Linked DNA regions of Homo sapiens: region 2 is linked to region 1. The links are contacts of gene promoters, found by promoter capture Hi-C in blood cells and fetal thymus (Javierre and others, 2016). All regions are on one chromosome and are shown on one strand. The core of a region is centred on a gene start or on the middle of the fragment in contact, and the rest is flanking DNA. Distances in the headings are between cores, read along the strand shown. Region 1 holds the start of TMX3 (thioredoxin related transmembrane protein 3). Region 2 holds the start of HMSD (histocompatibility minor serpin domain containing).

Evidence for each region. The method cuts DNA at HindIII sites, captures the fragments that hold promoters and counts their contacts. A CHiCAGO score of 5 or more calls a contact.
Region 2: the fragment with the promoter of HMSD here is called in contact with the fragment with the promoter of TMX3 in region 1 in 1 of 17 cell types (total B cells); the score reaches 5.8 in total B cells.

The regions. Positions count from the first base shown.
Region 1 is chr18:68,713,293-68,716,936 of GRCh38, reverse strand. It overlaps TMX3 (thioredoxin related transmembrane protein 3), which reads left to right and starts at 1,829. Exons shown (of 16, transcript NM_019022.5): 1 at 1,829-2,001; 2 at 3,037-3,091. The coding sequence starts at 1,956. It also overlaps a transcript of CCDC102B not described here. RefSeq lists an enhancer at 1,502-1,571 and silencers at 1,772-1,901, 2,082-2,181. The HindIII fragment of the contact is 941 bases long and covers 1,349-2,289 here.
Region 2 is chr18:63,947,551-63,951,194 of GRCh38, reverse strand. HMSD (histocompatibility minor serpin domain containing) reads right to left here and starts at 1,894. Exons shown (of 4, transcript NM_001123366.2): 1 at 1,795-1,894. RefSeq lists a silencer at 1,827-2,056. The HindIII fragment of the contact is 6,685 bases long and covers 1-3,644 here.

The DNA.
Region 1 (3,644 bases), core at 580-3,079:
CCAGCTAATTCTCTGTATTCTTAGTAGAGACGGGGTTTCACTGTGTTAGCCAGGATGGTCTCGATCTCTTGACCTCGTGATCCACCTGCCTCGGCCTCCCAAAGTGCTGGGATTACAGGTGTAAGCCACCGCGCCAGGCCACATCTGGCTAATTTTTTAATTTTTTGTACAGATGGGGTCTCACTGTGTTGACCAGGCTGGTCTCAGACGCCTCACCTCAAGCAATCCTCCTGCCTCAGCCTCCCAAAGTGCTGGGATAATAGGCATGAGCCACCCATGCCTGGGACTTGATCAGTATTTAGATTTCATAAAATTTACAGTTGAAAAAGTAGATTCACATACCTCAGTTGTTCCAACCACATTAAAAAAACTTTCCAATAGCTGAATCGAGTGTCAGTTTTTGAGTTTACTGAAATTAAAAAAAATAAATATTCAGTTATTTCATCACACTAGGCACATTTCAAAAGCTCAATAGCCACATGTGGTTAGTGGCTACACTACTGAAAAGCACAGATCTAGGTCAACTGGCTTTTGTTGTTGTCCACATGTGAACTTAAACTGTAACGCAAATATAAGAGGAAATTATTTCACTTTGCATGCTGTGGAAGACAGAAAACTTTGAAATACATGAGAATGAAAAAAAAAAATTGAATATGGGTCATTCAGAGACCTTGCCAAGAAAGTAGAAAAGCTTCTGTATAAGAGTATCGAGGCGATGGTACTATTATAAAGCTGTTCCACCACCACCGGGAGAACATTCCCATCATTTCAACAGTCCCCTTACGTTTTAGTCTACTTTTTTCTTAAAAAAAAAAGAAAAAAAGGAAAAGAGAAAGAAAAAGAAAAATTGAATCTGTAGAGGGCTTGCGCTGGATACCATGCTGCATGCACAAAGGGGGTGACATTTAGGGCTTGCTCTCAATTAGAGTGCAATTTAATCTTCTAGTCACTAGGAATAACGACGTTTTATGACATTTTTGCCTGTTGGAATTTTGAACCTAAGGTGAACCGGCTGACATCATATCCCCCTTCTGTTGTTGTCACAGGTTTTCAAAATTTGGTTTGATCTAAATTCTCTGGTACCTTATGTCCCATAAAAATTTCATCTAGTTCGTAAGTAGTGATTGCTGCAGTAACCGTCTTATAAAAGTATATGGTTTTTACAAATCATTGTCGTATAGAAGAAAAAACAGGTAGCAATATAAATATTTCATACTACTTTATCTAGTTCCAAAATAATCAGAAAAGAGCCATCAAAAAATATCCTACGCTTAACTTCATGTTCTCAAGTTTCAAGAGAAAGTTTTTAAAGAGGCAATCCTTACTTTGGCAAAAATGCATTAAAGCTTGCTGCATTTAAGAGATGTCCCATTATGCAAACAGGTTGAAAGAATATTACAAATACGTTTTGGAAAAATACGGAGTGTCGCGCAGCTCAGCAATCCGCAGTCTTAATGCGCGCCTCTTTCCAGGAATTTGATCCAGCATCAAAACCCACAGGTGCACTCACCACACGGGAGTAACAAGTAAATGATGTGCCAGTATTCAACCTGCAAGTGCGTCGTCAGAGCCTACCTCACCCTCAGCATAACTTTCACCGGTATTCACCTTCCCGGAAACGCGCCCCAGTGAACCAGCACCGTTTTCCCTAGTAAAGCCCTTAAGCAGGGTTCCCACGCTCCTGGGCGTGGAGGGGGGCACCGAGAGCGCAAAGGATTCTTAAGACATGACTGCGCAGGCGCTGTCGCATGCGCCGCACTCCCCTCGCATGCGCCGCACTCCCGCGCATAGCCGGAGACGGAGACTGGCCGGGTAGCCCCGCCCCCGTAGTTAGCGCGGTGCTTCTCTTCCGCTCCGGGTCGGCTCCGTTTCCCTTTCCGGGCGGGCAGGCGGCGGACCCCAGTGTCTTTATCCCTCTTTTGCACAGTCAGCTTCTGCAGCTCTCCCGGGCTAGCATGGCAGCGTGGAAGAGTTGGACGGCCCTGCGGCTCTGCGCCACAGGTAATGGGGGCTCAGCGGTCGGGACGCTGGCGGGCGCGTGGGACCTGGCCCCGCCGTGGGGCCGGGATTGGACCCGGGTCTGGGGCGAGGCCTGCGGGGTTCGTGGAGATGCCCACCCATTCCCGGCAGCGTCCTGCCGCCCCCGCCGCGCCACCCTGCCTGGCCCTGACGGAGCGGACACCTTGGGGTCCTTCCGCCGCCGCTGTGCCGGACCAATGCTGGACGTGGGAAGGGCGCGCTGCCTTGTGTTTGTGTTTTTCTCATTGTGGCAGAAGTTTCAATAAAGCTTACTCCTTTGATGGGCAAGAAGGATGCCGCCGTCCCAGCTTAACGACCAAATCTTGCCTTGGCTTTAGGTTCCGAGTCTTGTCACGTTTAAGGATTTTTACCACCAGTACTCAAGAGAGGGTGGTCGAGGACAGATCAGGGTCAGGCCGCCGGGATTGTGCGGTGTGAAAAGGACCTGAGTGTGTGTCAGCGGTTCTCAGCTGCCTCCCGTCAGCATGGAGTGCCCTCATTCTCACTGGGGTCCGCTCACTTAACAACCTTTTAGAGCCCACTCTGTGTCAGGCACTGCCGTGTAATAAGTATTAGAGTTGCAGCTCGACTTTCTTCCTACGTATCTATTTGAGGGGAAATATTTTGAATGGCATTTGGAGTTTTTACGGAAGAGGTAATTGCTACTAAAGCAAAAGAAATAAAGAAGAATGCTGTCTATTTGTATTCCAAAAAGATAGGATGGTTAAAAAGAGACGTAAGATGAGAGTGAAAATATGGAGGAAAAAGGAACTGTGTGTATTAGATTTATTGGCTTACCTAGAACTTGGCCGGTCACGATATGGTTGCATACAGACTAAATATTTATTAAATGGATGAACTACCTTTGCTTTTGCATCATTTGCACCCTGGGATGCATCAGTGATGAATTTTTTGGTAGGTTGTGAAAGGTCAAAAACACTTCAGAGATGACTAAGCTTATACGGTATGAGCCAAATAATCAGCATTTATTGTGTACATTTTGTCTTTTTTTTTCAGTTGTTGTACTTGATATGGTCGTCTGTAAAGGATTTGTAGAAGATTTAGATGAATCGTGAGTATACATATATATATTTAAAATATTATTTTAACTGTCCAACTCAGATATCTGAATATTTGCATGTGATTCTAATATTTTAGATTGGAACCAATTTTTATATATCACTCATTTTTTTCACTTGTTGTAAGTGAAGGTGAGGGTGTGCCCAGAAGAGTTTTATTAATAGTTATGAGATCAAAAAACTGTGGCAAACTTTTACATATTCTTTTTTTCCTCATTATCTTACCTTGTATTTATGTCTTTTTCCTTTAATTATATTGAATGGGTGTTAGAATTTGGTAACTGTACTGTATTTATCTTCATAGTATGACAGCATTAATCAGCCTTGCTTATAGTAAGTGAGGAGGTTCACTTCAGACCCAAATTCCTGTGTGTGATCTTTCAGGCTTGACCATAGACAATTGCAAGGCTTTTTCTGGCATAGGGGAAGGTGCCCTCCCTACACCAAACTTGGTGTATAACCGGTGCATTACAGTCCCTGGAGGGAGTGGTAGTCAAGGATTCGGCCTCCCAGGCCAGCCACGCTCATTTGCATGTCTACACTCCC
Region 2 (3,644 bases), core at 645-3,144, 4.8 Mb after region 1:
TTAAAGAACAAACTTACAAAATTAACAACTATATCATTAATATAAGCATTTGTACAATAATAAACTGAATAAATCAACACTTATAAATCTGTTAAACTAGATTCTCCTAAGACTTTCAAACATGTTTTAAAATACAACTGTACAACAGTGATTATAAAACTTATTTCTAGCACCCCACTAGTAATACTGTGGGTTTTATACACTTTATCTTCACTCTATCTTTTTATATTTCCTAGGGTGATGGTAATGCTTATTTTAATACTTTTCTGGGGTTAAATTAATAACAGACCATCTCCTATTCACAAAAACAATAGGATGGGGCTGCCAGATTGATGGTTGGGACATGGGCTCTGACTGACCTGACACTGCTACTTTTCAGGTCATACTGCTTTTTAAAGCCAAACAAATGTAAGGACCATTTTGCAGTTTGGTCCTACATTGGGATTTTGCAAAGACAACTATTAAATTTGCTTTTTTCTTTTTTTTGCCAAATGCCTTTCCTTGAAATGAAATACTATTTGAGGTTCTCGTGCATCTGATTTGCGTAACACAGAGTTCTATCCACAAGTTGGCTTTCAAAGTCTCCTGGTTTAATATTTAGGCCTTCAGGTTGGTTTTTGTAACCACTGTGCCTGTCAACCTAGGTGCCTATAGTCACTATTCCTACACAGCAGTCGTATATGAATCATCACACAGCATTTCTTGTAAACATTATTGAAATTATTTCCTGCCTCCTTTAAACTCATCTTACATTTTTTTTTTTTTTTTTTTTTTTTTTTGAGAGAGAGTCTCGCTTTGTCCCTCAGGCTGGAGTGCAGTGGTGCAATCTTGGCTCACTGCAACCTCTGCCTCCCAGGTTCAAGCGATTCTTCTGCCTCAGCCTCCTGAGTAGCTGGGACTACAGGCCCATGTCACGACACCCGGCTAATTTTTGTATTTTTAGTAGAGACTGGGTTTCACCATATTGGCCAGGCTGGGTCTCGAACTCCTGACCTCGTGATCCGCCCCCCTCAGCCTCCCAAAGTGCTGGGATTACAAGCGTGAGCCACCGCGCCTGGCCCATTTTACTTGTTTTATCTGAATTTACTAAAGGACTCTTTCTTGGCTTTGTTGTAACATGTATTTCAATTAACACATACTGGTTTTTGTTCTTGAGCAAATTCTCACAACTTGTCTACTGGGAATCTCTGTAAATTGGTTACTTTCTTTTTACACTATCCCAACACTTTTGCTTTCTGGCAACAGTATCGTCCTCATTTTGATTTTTTTCCAGTCCAAAAACATACTATCAACGCCTCTCCTGGTTTCTTTTAAAGGAGGAGGAATGTCAAGTACAAATTCTGAATACTGAGAGCATACGAGTTTCGGTACCGACAAATAAATACTGCTGCTGTTGTTTTTCCTGGAGGTCCCAGGCCTCACAGCCCCTTCCAGCGCCCAACATAAACTTCACCAGGGTGGGAGGCCTCATTGTACCTACTTCCAGCTCCTGCAGGATGAGTGGAGCCCAGGCAGGACTTTCACCCCCCAGCTCCGCGCCCATTCGCCCTGGCCTCCCCTCCCCGCGCCTGGACCCATAGGGCACACAGCCAAGTGCAGCCAAGTCCCTGCCCTTAGGGAGCCCCCGCCAGAGACCGAGTAAAGAAGGACAGCCCCAGGGAAAGGTCTGGAGCAACAGGTGCGCTGAGCACTTCACTGGGCTTCCCTTTCGTAGGTTCCCGCCCTTTTCCTGGGCTCAAGAGCAGGTAACGAGAATCCAGCGTGTGGGAACCACTCCCAAAGTCAAACACCTACCCCAGTTCTCCGCGCAGCTGCCCAGGAGCGAAGTGAGACCGGGTCGGAGAGGCGGGAATAGAGATGTCTGAGCGGCGCCGGGTGTTAGTTCCCAGTGAATGGGGAGGCGGGCGGAGTCGGGCCCAGCCAGGCACCACCTAGCGGGCGCCTGGGCAGGAGGGCGGGGCGGGTCCCGCAGGCCGCGGGGATCTCCTGATGTGCAGGAAGTGGCCAATCTCTGTGCAGGAAAAAGCCCCAACTGTCCGGGAGTTTTCAGTCAAGAAGCGATAATGCGCTTTGGCTATTTGGGGTTTTTCGTGGTTCCATACAAATTATAGGGTTTTTTTTTTTTTCTATTTCTGTGAAGAATGACATTGGTATTTTGACAGGGATTGCATTCAATCTGTAAATTGTTTGGGTAGCATTGTACTTTTAACATTAATTATTCCAACCTATGAGCATGAATATGTGTCCATTTTCTGTGTGTGTTCTTCACGTTTTTCTCATCAGTGTTTTATAGTTGTCCTTGTAGAAGTCTTTCACTTTTTTAATTAAATTGATTACTAGGTATTTTATACATCATATTTCTTATAGCTATTGTAAGTGGGATTTCTTTCTTGATTTCTTTTTCAGACTGTTCACTGTAGATGTATAGACATCTTACGGATATTTTATATCCATTTTGTATTCTGCAACTTTACTGATTCATTTATTAGTTCTAGTAGTTTTTGAGGGGAGTCTTTTGGTTTTTCCGATTATAAGATTATACCATTGGTGAGCAAAGCTAATTTTACATCTTTCTTTCCAGTTTGGGTGTCCTTTGTTTCTTTTTCTTGCCTAATTGCCCCGGCCAGGACTTCCAGTCAGATACTGAATAAAGGGGGTGAAACTGGGCATCCTTGTCTTGTTGCAGATCTTATAGGAAAGGTTTTCAATTTTTCCCTGTTCAGTATGATATTAGCAGTGGGTTTTTCATTTTGGTTTTTATTGTTTTGAGGTATATTCCTTCTATACCCAATGTGTTAAGGATTTTTATCATAAAGAGATGTAGGATTTTACTGAATACATTTTCGGCATCTATTGAAATGATCGTGCAGTTTTTGTTGTTGGTTCTTTTAATGCAATGTATCGCATTTATTGATTTGTGTATATTGAATCATACTTGCATACCCGGGTGAATCTCACTTGATCGTGGTGAGTGATCTGTTTAATGTGTTGTTGAATTGGAGTTGCTAGCAATTTTTTGAGGATTTTTTCTGTTTTTTACCTGTTGATATGACGGATTCCTTTGATTTTCAAATGTTGAATTAGTCTTGTACACCTGCAATCAATCTTACTTAGTCACAATGTATAATCCAACTATTTTACACATAGTTTGATTTCATTTGTGAATATGTTGTTCAGGATTTTGCATCTATACTAATGAAAGATATTGGTCTTTAAGTTTCTTTTCTTCTAATGTCTTTGTCTGGTTTTGTTATCAGAGTAATTCCAGCCCTATAGAATGAATTAGAAAGTAGTTCTTCTGCTTCTATCTTCTGAAAGAGATTTAGAGAATTGGAGTAAACGTTTTCTTAATTTGTTTTTAGAATTTACCAGTGAGCCCATCTGGGTCTGGTAATTATTTTAGATGGCTATTAATTATTGATTAATTTTTTTAGTAGATATAGGCCTATTCAAATGTTCTATTTCCTGTTGTGTGACTTTTGGCGGATTGTGTCTTTCAAGAAATTGATCCACGTCATGTAGTTTATCAAATTTGTGGGCACAGAGCTGTCCTGAGTATTCCTTTATGATTTTTTACTGTACATGGGATTTTTAGCATTTCACCACTTTCATTTCTGATATTAGTAATTTAGGCTTTTCTTTTT